Regions from separate parts of the Homo sapiens genome. Here region 1 is linked to region 2. The links are contacts of gene promoters, found by promoter capture Hi-C in blood cells and fetal thymus (Javierre and others, 2016). All regions are on one chromosome and are shown on one strand. Each heading gives the region's core, a stretch centred on a gene start or on the middle of the fragment in contact. The rest is flanking DNA. Distances are from core to core; before and after follow the strand shown. Region 1 overlaps KCNE4 (potassium voltage-gated channel subfamily E regulatory subunit 4). Region 2 holds the start of SCG2 (secretogranin II).

The links. The method cuts DNA at HindIII sites, captures the fragments that hold promoters and counts their contacts. A CHiCAGO score of 5 or more calls a contact.
Region 1: a contact is called between a fragment that was not itself captured here and the fragment with the promoter of SCG2 in region 2, in 1 of 17 cell types (M1 macrophages). The highest score is 5.0, in M1 macrophages.

The regions. Positions count from the first base shown.
Region 1 is chr2:223,052,546-223,058,392 of GRCh38, forward strand. It overlaps KCNE4 (potassium voltage-gated channel subfamily E regulatory subunit 4), which reads left to right. Exons shown (of 2, transcript NM_080671.4): 2 at 263-3,092. The coding sequence starts at 286. The coding sequence ends at 798. Among named protein-coding and RNA genes, the nearest start is that of KCNE4, 3.3 kb to the left of the region's middle. RefSeq lists an enhancer at 1-500. The HindIII fragment of the contact is 633 bases long and covers 1,293-1,925 here.
Region 2 is chr2:223,600,509-223,605,714 of GRCh38, forward strand. SCG2 (secretogranin II) reads right to left here and starts at 1,853. Exons shown (of 2, transcript NM_003469.5): 1 at 1,777-1,853. The HindIII fragment of the contact is 835 bases long and covers 1,681-2,515 here.

The DNA.
Region 1 (5,847 bases), core at 359-2,858, 550 kb before region 2:
CTACAAACAGGACAAATGTGTACACTAAAAAAAAAAAAAAAAGTCCTTCTTACTTTTCCCAGTGAACCTTCCCGGGCTTCTCTCCCGTGCACTCCAAGCCCTCATAGCTCACTCTTGTCAGCTGTTTGGCGAACCCTCTTATGCTATTTCTTTCATGCACTTTTAAGCTTTTTTGGTATTGCAGTTCCACAAACCTCGTGCTCCCCCACCTCCCTGTGCCCAGGACCTGGGGGAGAGTTCTAACCTGCGGCTTTTTCCCCAGCCCCTGCTGTGGAGGCAGCCTCAATGCTGAAAATGGAGCCTCTGAACAGCACGCACCCCGGCACCGCCGCCTCCAGCAGCCCCCTGGAGTCCCGTGCGGCCGGCGGCGGCAGCGGCAATGGCAACGAGTACTTCTACATTCTGGTTGTCATGTCCTTCTACGGCATTTTCTTGATCGGAATCATGCTGGGCTACATGAAATCCAAGAGGCGGGAGAAGAAGTCCAGCCTCCTGCTGCTGTACAAAGACGAGGAGCGGCTCTGGGGGGAGGCCATGAAGCCGCTGCCTGTGGTGTCGGGCCTGAGGTCGGTGCAGGTGCCCCTGATGCTGAACATGCTGCAGGAGAGCGTGGCGCCCGCGCTGTCCTGCACCCTCTGTTCCATGGAAGGGGACAGCGTGAGCTCCGAGTCCTCCTCCCCGGACGTGCACCTCACCATTCAGGAGGAGGGGGCAGACGATGAGCTGGAGGAGACCTCGGAGACGCCCCTCAACGAGAGCAGCGAAGGGTCCTCGGAGAACATCCATCAGAATTCCTAGCACCCCCGGGACCCCTGCCGGTGGCTCCATCAGCCAGCAACCTTAGAGAGAGGAAAGACAGTTTTCAAGTGTCTGGTTTCACTTTCACAGTGCGGCTGCCACTTTGAAGAGACCCTTGGTAAACCCCTGATTCGGGGTGGGGTGGGGGACTAGGCTCAGCCGGAACCAGCACCTCCAAGGAGTCCGGGAGGTGCCTGTGGTTTGCACCCACCACTGAAAAAGCCGCGGAGATGCGCAGCGCGTACACTGACTTTGGGGCCTGGGTGTTGGGGTTCTGATCAGAATTTGGCGGGATGATATGTTTGCCATTTTCTCACTGGATGCCCTGGGTAGCTCCTGCAGGGTCTGCCTGTTCCCAGGGCTGCCGAATGCTTAGGACACGCTGAGAGACTAGTTGTGATTTGCTATTTTGCCTAGAGCTTTGTCCTTCTAGATCTGATTGGCTGTAAGTATCTCTACTGTGTACCTGTGGCATTCCTTCACAGTGGGTTACAAGCTTCTTTTGGATTAGAGGGGGATTTTTGATGGGAGAAAGCTGGAGATCTGAACCCAGCCCATTTGCACACTATAAGAAAAAAAAGTAACTTTTAAACCTGTTAACATTGGCCGGGGTTATAAGAGATGATCTTCTATTTTGACCTTTTGTCTAACTTATGACCTTGAACTCTGACCTGTGACCATGCAGCATCACATGATGGCATGACGTTCTTTGGATCAGAAGAGCTTCCCCAGAATCTAACCTGCACTCCCGATGGTGGTTCAGGAGACTCTTCCTGATCTTTCTAGAAGGGGTAAAGTGGGGTTGAACAAGGCCAAGCCGTTAGCTCTGCTGCTGCTCAGTTTCCCAGCCTAGTTTTCTGAGCTGGGAGAGGACATAATGTGGTATTTCGTCACGTAGCTGAGACCTAGAAGGGCATACTCAGGCGGAGATTGCACAAAGCTGGGCTCCAAGTTCTGTGCTTCCTGATCCCGAGCCCTGACACTCATTTGCTGTGTGGTCCCGGGCATGTCATCAAGAAGCTCGCTGTCTGCATGAGGCTCCCGACGATCTCCATCCCCAGGGGGTTGGGAGGATGTCTTTAGATTTTAGGACTCTGTGATAAATATTCCACAGCCTGGTGTGAGGAAGCTTGGACCAAATGCTTCCCCTTTGGCCGGTTAGTCTGAACAAGGATCTGCTGATTTAAAGGAGCAGTTGGAGATTCAGAACACATATAACTGGGGAATTCAGGGCAAGCTACCAACCCAGCCCTGCTGTAGTTTTCCCAGGACTGAAGGAAAGAGGCAGACACCACATTCTCCTCTGCAAAGTTCTCTGGAGAATGTGTGATGTTAACACTCCCAGCTAAGGGAAAGCAAAGTCTAAAGGAAAACACACAGGAATGCTTCCAATGTCTCCAAGTATTCCTGTGGTCAACAGTTTCGCAGATCCGTTAGGCCCTTAAAGACAAGGAGGAAGTAAAAGGTCAAATTTAAATCTATTTAAAAAAACTTTTAAAAAAATTATTTATTTATTATTATTTTTTATTTTTAAGACAGAATCTCGCTCTGTTGCCCAGGCTGGAGTGCAGTGGTGCAATCTTGGCTCACTGCAACCTCCACCTCCTGGGTTTCAGCGATTCTCCTGCCTCAGCCTCCTGAGTAGCTGGGATTACAGGCGCCTGCCACCACGCCCAGCTAATTTTTTGATTTTTAGTAGAGATGGGGTTTCGCCATTTTGGCCAGGCTGGTCTCAAACTCCTGGCCTTAAATGATCCTCCCACCTCGGCCTCCCAAAGTGCTGGGATTACAGGCATGAGCCACTGCACCCGGCCACTTTTTTTTTTTTTAAAGAAAAATGCTCTGCATGGATTGGAGACACAGCAATAACTACTGTTGCCATGGAAGGGTTAACAGTGTAGGAGCTGGTTTATCAGTCCGCTTTGACATACAGCTAAAGGAAATTTATGTTTGGGGGAAAAAGGCCCTCTGTTCACTTTAAAATTCAGTGTGGACTTATGCCAAAGGGGGCTGTTTAAGTTGAAAGAAGCCAAGTTAAGTTTGGCCTCTTGCCTGGAATCACTTGAATTCTGAAATTTCACTGCGACGGACATGTGCCTTGTCACATTTTCCATTGCTTAATCCTGAAGTTTGGTGCAAGTCTCTCTGCACCTATTAAAAAGTGATGTATATACTTCCTTCTTATTCTGTTGAGTTGTATAGAATTGTCTTTTGTATTTAACACTTTGTAATTTTCACAATATTTTTTAATTTAAATAAATAAACACATTTTTTCCCTCCTGGGAAGTCATGAATTCTTTGTTTGATTTTTCAATATAATTGTTAGTTTCGAAGACATCACAGATACGTTTCCCAAGACATCTCTGGATTTTGCTCCTCTCCCAAGTCAGTATCTCCTGAGGGCGTATCTTATTTCTGTCTGAACCATGGGGTGAATGAGGCTTGGCTTTTCATCCTTTGAAATGCTTTGTAATGAATGGAAAACAAGCTGCAGATGGTCTTACATGGACTTCTCTGTTTAAATATGGCAGCCCTGGAGTCTTTGGACTTTGAACATGCAGTGACAGGTCAACTGCTGCTAAGATGTTGCTCCAAGCTTGGTTGCAAGAAAACGTTTGACCTGTATGTTGGCTTGGCAAATATTATCCACACATGTGGCCCAGCAGCACCTGCTAATGGGCAAAGAGCTGCTGTATGAACAGCAACACAAACTTACCAACACAGTGAAGCACGACGTGTGGGGCTGGGGTTGACTCTCCTCCCTCTCCTGGTCTCCTTCAGACTGGGACTGATTCCAGCCCCTCCCACTTGGTCTGTCTGTATCTCTTGCCCACAGGCTGAGGCCGTGGCCAGCCTGCGGCAGCCTCTTCTTCATAATTTTATTTGCATGACCTGTTTTTGAATCAAGCAAATGGTAGGAAGCATCCTTACTTTTATGTTTCTCTGTTTCCTGTGAGATTGGCTTTTCTGTTTCAAGTAAGTGTTTCCCTTCAGTTCACTAGTAACTGTCTACCTAAAAAATTTACCTGGCAACAGTACAGTGGAGCCTGGATCCTTCCCAAACAATATCGAGGGCCCTGATCCATCAGTTGGTACTTTGATGATGTAAGATGAGAAGATTGCTGTAAAAGGCAAGAGAGCCTTTCCATTTGTCCCAGTTTAATGTCGTTCTTCGTAAGGAAATGGTTAAGAATTTTTCTATTTTTTTAAGCCATGGGTGGAAGGAGAGGGAATTCTAAACTCTAATTGTCCTAAAAATATGCAGAGTACACTTTGTCGTTTTAATGGGATATTTGTTTTCTTTAAAAAAAAAAAAGAATTTCTAAGCAGAACCTAAGGCCCAAGGGGTTTAGTCTGTGTGGATTTACTCATGCATGTGAAAAACTGAGAGGATAATTTGGCCCTGTGCACCTAAGATATTAAAAACATATTTTGAAAGCACTTAAATGTTAGGGATGAGGTAAATGGATCATCCTGCCTGCTCCACACTGTTCTAATTACACCTTTGTACGTCAGAGTCAGGCAGGGATGTTACACAGTAGAAGATTTCTTTCACTGGTAGAATCATGGGATCAAATCTACTGGGAAAGGCTGAAGTCAGGCCAAGGAATGAATGCTCTTGGCTCATGATTCTGGTTGGAAAGTGGACCCCCTGGTGCCTTTCAGAGCTGCAACTGGAGGGTTTCATGGTCAGACATGCACTTCTAGGATTCAGCTAAACGAGGGTAATTTATCATCCTGTAAAATGCTGCTCTGACCGTAGACATTGTGGAACAAACAGAACATTGAGCTTAAAATGTAACTTAAACTCCAGCTTCAGGCAGAGCATACTTTTGCCTCATGCCCTTTCCTTAAAGTCTGTGTACTGTGCTGAAGAAAATCACAGGACATATCATCGGTCATGGGACTAGAGGCAGAGTCTAGCGCTGGAGGGAGACCTGTCAGCCAGTTGGTCAGGATGGTGGCTCAGGCTACGCCTGAAACGCGGGGAGGTAGGGTGTAAATAGTGGCCAGTGGAGCCTCAGCCTTGTTATGTCTGGCTTTCTAGCCTAACTCTGCTACCATGTTGCTTGTAGCTCTGGGGAAGCTACCTAACCTTTCTGAGCTCTCTCTTTCAACAAGAAGACAGCATGCTGGCTTTTCTCTTTGGGGAGTTGTTCAAAGAACGGTGGAACGCCCTGAGAAATACTCAAAGAAAAGCAGATTCAGGCTTCTACTTTAAAAATGTGTCCTGGGCATGCATCTGCAAATAAAGTCACAAAACATCCTCTTCTATGGACGCTTTCCTCAGGAGACTGCTGTGTGCTCAGAAAAAGTGCACGCTTTGCCAAAGGAGAAGGGTCACAAGAGGGAAAAACCACTGTTAAATTCAGCCTTCCCCCATTTCTGAAATGTTTCCTCCCACACAGGAAGGAACAGTTTGGGATGTGTGCTGTTACCATGGAGATAACCAGCTAAGGTCACTTGATGGAAGGAGTCTGTGGCCCACTAGCATGGATCATTAGGGCCAATCTCGGGAGCTAAGGTTTTGTCCTTGGCTCAGAAAATGAGCTTTGAGCCCATGGCAGCCTCTATTCACAGGTATGGGAGGGGGTGCAGGGACAACACCGTTCTCCTTTTGTCTTGCACAAGCCTGTCCTCTCTTCGTACATCCCCCTTGCATCCTTTGCAATCCCTTCCTTGCACTTGCCCTGTCACATTCGACGTAGGGCTAAGCTCTTGTTCTGCTGTTCCTATGAATTTATTTTCCTGCCTTGAATTCTCTTGCTAAGAAACATGATTGAAAAATCCTTCACATCAATAACTGTACCTCTTTCCTGTCTTTAATAGTTTTCCTTTGCTTGTCCTCTCTTTATCTAGCCTCCCTCCCTTTCTTCCTCTCTCTCATCCTTCCATTACCCAAAAGGAACAAAAAGACTAGTAGCCACAGTGCATGATACTTATTCAGCAATTTTTACAAGCCACACACCTTTGCAACCCTGCATTTTGAGCTTTTCCTCTGTTCTAGGCACTTCTCTAGGTGCTAGGAAAAAATGTAACACCTCTCTG
Region 2 (5,206 bases), core at 603-3,102:
GGCTATTTTGTTGTAAACAAAATGAATGTAAGAGGAGTTTACAAGTTTGTTCATATCTTTACCAGATCATGGTTTTGTGATAGATAAGCTAAGTTATATGTATACAATTTTCTGTTAGCTTAGACATCAATTGTAGAAAATACCATTGTTCACAAGATCATATTGATGATTTTGTTTCCAGTTTTTTAGAGCCCAATAATGGCTTAGTTATGAAAACATTTTAGCATACGTATATACCTATTTAAATGATTCACGTTTACCAGAGTACTTAATTTATTGAAAGAAACATCTTGAAAGGCATTTGAGAGGATACTTCCAAAATATTTATTATAAATACATGTTTACTATAAGTAATTTTATTCATAAAATAATGAGGTTCAAATAAAAATACATTATGCACTCTTGTTTATATTATTTCAGGATTAATGTAGCTTTGGTAATCAACTTTCAACATTGGCATTTGAAATAATAATCTTAAAAACCTTACTGAACTTATTTTTTTTGAAGCCACAATACTGAAATAGTCTTAACATGTGGATTATATGCTCATCTTTAAAATCATTATCTTGGAACTGCACTTTGCTGTAAAGTTGAAGCAGACTACTCATTGCAGTTGTTTAAACCACAGCCTAAGAAGTGCTACCCTTTGCTTAACTATTCAGCTTCAGTTTGAATGACATAGTTATTGCCTTTGAGTGAGACCCAAAGGATTCTTTTCCCAGGTAGCAGCTCTTTCAAGTAGTAAAGATGTTTCAACAGCTCTACTATTCTATATGGGGTTTGATTTAAAATTGAATTTTCTGAAATCCAAATAATTAGAACATTATTTTTCCCCTGATAGCTATCATTAAAATCTCTCAAGTTAAAATGTCTTTTCTGTTGAATTCAGGCTAGAGCATTGACACATGCAGGTGACTATATGTAATTTAAGCAATTCAACTAGTTGGGATACAGAAAAAATGAAATACTTGTCCCAGACAAAATCTTTAGCAACATATTGAACATCCTCTTTAAATCAAATTATAGCAATAACAATAACAATTTACAAAGTTATGAGTATTTTCATCATGTATTCAAAATGATCATTTCTCTGTAATTCATGGTCACAGCCAAATTACAACCCAAGATAATATTTTGCCCTGGAAAAAGGAAGAATCCAGTGTTCAGGAAAATCCTAAGTTAACATCTTAGAACTAAAATTAGGAGATAATAATGTAAGCTCTTTCAAATATACAAGTTCAGAAAAGAATTTTATGTGGTTAGTTAATTCAGAGCTCTTGTAAGATAAATATCAAAGAAAAAAAACCTAGTTCCAAAATGGGTTGCCTTTATGACTAACATGCTTGACAGCCTTTGTATCATTGGAAACCTACTGTTAAGAATATTAAACATATAAATTATACCCCTGGCTTCGTATCTGGCTCTTAGTGGCAGAAATAATAAATTTTGGAAAGAAACAAGATATTGGGCTTGGTTAACTTTACATTAATCTGTGTATTGACACTAAAATCCTTAACTTTTTCACTCTTTTTTATATGATTATCTAAGTAACATTCTGGTTAGTAAATATCCAACATCAAGTAGTATAAAGCATAGACCCGATCATGTATATACACATATGTAGTGTCCTTACATTGGCTGATGAGCAGCAGGTTGCTATTCAGTTATCCTATCGACATAAGCTTGCCAAACAGTCTTTTTCTTCTCAGCTAGGAATTAAAAGAAGAGCATGCAATTTGGAACTTTCCAATAAATCAAAGAGAAAAGCAGCCTTACCTCTTTTTGTTTATATGGCAGAGGAGCTCCACAGCATATTCCTCCCCGTTCTCCGGGCGAGCTTCTCGGGCCGTTTCAGCACACGGACAGCTCCTCTGCTTATAGGGAGCCGCTGCGCCTGACTCCGCACTGCCACACTGACGTCACCGGGTTCAGCCACAAACCCCAGCACAAGCGAGGTTTTTCAAAGAACCAAGAGAAAATAATCACTTTATATTTAAAAAAAAAAAAAAAGAAAGAAAGAAAAGAAAAGAAAAAAAAGTTGCATGCTTACGCCACCTGTCTTTTTGTGGCAAAAATTGCAGTTTTCCTTTTTCTTTTATCAAAATCTTTGAGACGGAATAAACTGCTCTGCACGATTTCTCTTACAAAGAAAGAAATGTGTGTCAGACAGACATGGCTAATTGCAAGACAATCTCATCTATGTTCTAGCAACTTGTTATAATAGTTTCTTGGTGTCACTGTTGTAATTGTTGTCGTCGTTGTAAGAAAGTTTTACAGACAAGGATTATTTTTTCATCTTTGCCCACAAAGAAATTACATTACCATTTCCTGTTATAACCAAGATGAATGGAGGACACATTATAAATATGAAAGGCCATATTTCTTATCATGACCACAGCCATCATTCTTTTAAAATCATATTTATTTGAATAAAACAGAGAGTTCTCTCTCTTTTATATGAGAGCCAACTTTAATAGCTTATATAGTTTTTTAAATGGGTATTTATCAGACTTCAAGCTTAGTAGCTAATAATTCTTTATATCTCTGTTACTGTCTTTCACAATATCTGATCTCAGAAAGGGAAGCTCAGAAGTTGAGTGCTGATGAAAATACTTTCATCTACTTAAAAAAAAAGTCTTTTCACTGTTTGGGAAAAATGTGACACATACGTAACTAGAATTCATTTGCAATCGAAAGGAAGTTGTACTATAAATATTTCCCTTCTCCTGTTGAATCAGATGAGTTGAATACCTTCCATGAATGTGAACAATCCAGGGAATAATACAGCAATTAACTTTCAACCTCTCAGATTTATAATTCATAATCATTCCTCTGCCTTACCAGATAACCTGATTATATATTTCAATAATTTATATGGATATAAATTTTAAACTTTATTTTATTAAAGATATGAGTTTCTAAAAACTGTATATGTTGACATATACTTTAAGAATGCAACAGAATCTTGCCATATAAGAGATCCCATGTGTTTCTGCTAAATGAACAATCAGCCACTGACTCAATAAATTGTAATACCTACTAGGTGCCAGATACATTGCTAAATGCACAATTGTTAACTAATACAAAAATAAGTGATTTTTTTGCCTTTGATGAGCCTTTCAGCTAATGGGGATGACATGCAAATAAACACATAATTTTCATATAAATTGGAAAGCATCAATAGAGAGGTTAGCTAGCAGTGTTTGGACCATTTGGATAGCCAATGGGTTCAACCTAGAAATTCAGGGGGAAACAATGTCCTGGAATAAAAGGCCTAAGCTGAGATTTCTCACTATCAGGTTTTCTTACAAGGATTTCTAACTATGTTAGTACTTTTGAATTCCTCGAAAAAATAGGAAATGGCTTAAAGTCTTACAGAAAAAATCTTGGAAAAATGTGCCTCGATTCTCCCTATTTGGTTTTCCTAAACGACTAGGAGATCATCATTTGTGGATTGATATGAATTCATATACACTCAGACTGGGGTTATATGTCCAATTCATCCAACAAATTTTGCCTCATAGTGGTTTTTTAGGGCATGATCAAATGCTGGGTTGAAGAGACCTAAATATGACCCATTTCTCAAGCATCATCTCAATGACACCAGCTCATTCACTGACATCCTTAGCTAAGATTGCCTTAAATCTTAACAAAGCCCTGGCTAGCTGCTCCAAGTTTGACCTAATTTTCTGTCCAGCAGTTCTGTGTGACCAGTTCAACTAACCAGTATCAACGCAGCTTTAGAAAACTCTGCAATTATTCTTAAAATGTTGAGTTTGTTCAGCATAGGTCTCAAAAGCCCTCCAGAAAGTCATCCTGACTAGGCTAATTCATTTATGTGGAACTAAACTTTTTGGCAAGAACCAGAAGCTACGGTTCTTCTAAAGCCCCAGAGTCAACATCTTGCCTGGAAATATCTTCAATCATCCAAAAGACATGCAAAACCTCATTCAAAATCTCCAAGTAGATGTGAGATGCCAGGAGGCTGTTGCTGGGATGGATTGGCTCCACTAGGCTCAAGATGTGGGTAGAACAATAAGCCATTGTGGGCTATTGAATTTCTGCCTATCTTATGAGACTATGATAAATACCTCTCACTTACTGAGTTCTGTTATGATCCAAGCACTGTACTTGGAACCTAATTTAATCCTCCGGACAACTATAACAAGTAGGTATTTTTATCTCCATTTTACAGATGAAGAAACTAAAGCTCAGAAATAAGTAAGTTGCCCACTATTTTGACTTATAATTGGTAGAGCTAGAATTTGTATTTAAGTCCATTCTATGATATTTCTACAATAAAAACTATGATTCAGACACTGCTAGAGATGGAAATACAGAAATAAATATGGGATGGATTTAATCATTAAAGACCCAAGTCCAGAATTTAGTTTCTTTGACAAAAACCCCCAGTTGTCCAGTTGCTTTTCCTGGTCTAAGAAAAGCAAAGGCATAGGCCGGGACTTCTATTTGGGGCAGCACCAATGGAAAGCAAGAATAAACATTAGATCACAGCCTTGATGCTATGGGGCATACATCTTCCAAATAAGAGAACAGTTGCTGAATTAGGAAAATTCTATTCACCAGCCTGTTTTTTCAAAATCAAACTCCCCAAACATATTTTTTAACTTTCAAGTTCAGGGGTACATGTGCAGGTTTGTTACATAGGTAAACTTCTGTCATGGAAGTTTGTTGTACAGATTATTTCATCACCCAGGTATTAAGCCTACTACCCATTAGTTATTTTTCCTGATCCTCTCCCTCCTCCCACCATCCACACTCTGATAGGCTGTGTCGTTCCCCTCTTTGTGTTCATGTATTCTCATCATTTAGCTCCCACTTACAAGTGAGAACATATGGTATTTTGTTTTCTCTTCCTGCATTAGTTTTTTAAAGATAATGGCCTCCGCCTCTATCCATGTCCCTGCAAAGGACATGATCTCATTCTTTTTTTGGCTGCATAGTATTCTATGATGTATATGTGCCACATTTTCTTTATCCAGTCTGTAATTGATGGGCATTTAGGTTGATTCCACATCTTTGCTATTGTGAATAGTGCTGCAATGAACATACACATGCATGTGTCTTTATAATAGAACAATTTGTATTCCTTTGGGTATATAACCAATAATGGAATTGCTGGGTTGAATGGTAGTTTACATCTTTGAGGAATCACCACACTGTCTTCCACAATGGCTGAACTAAT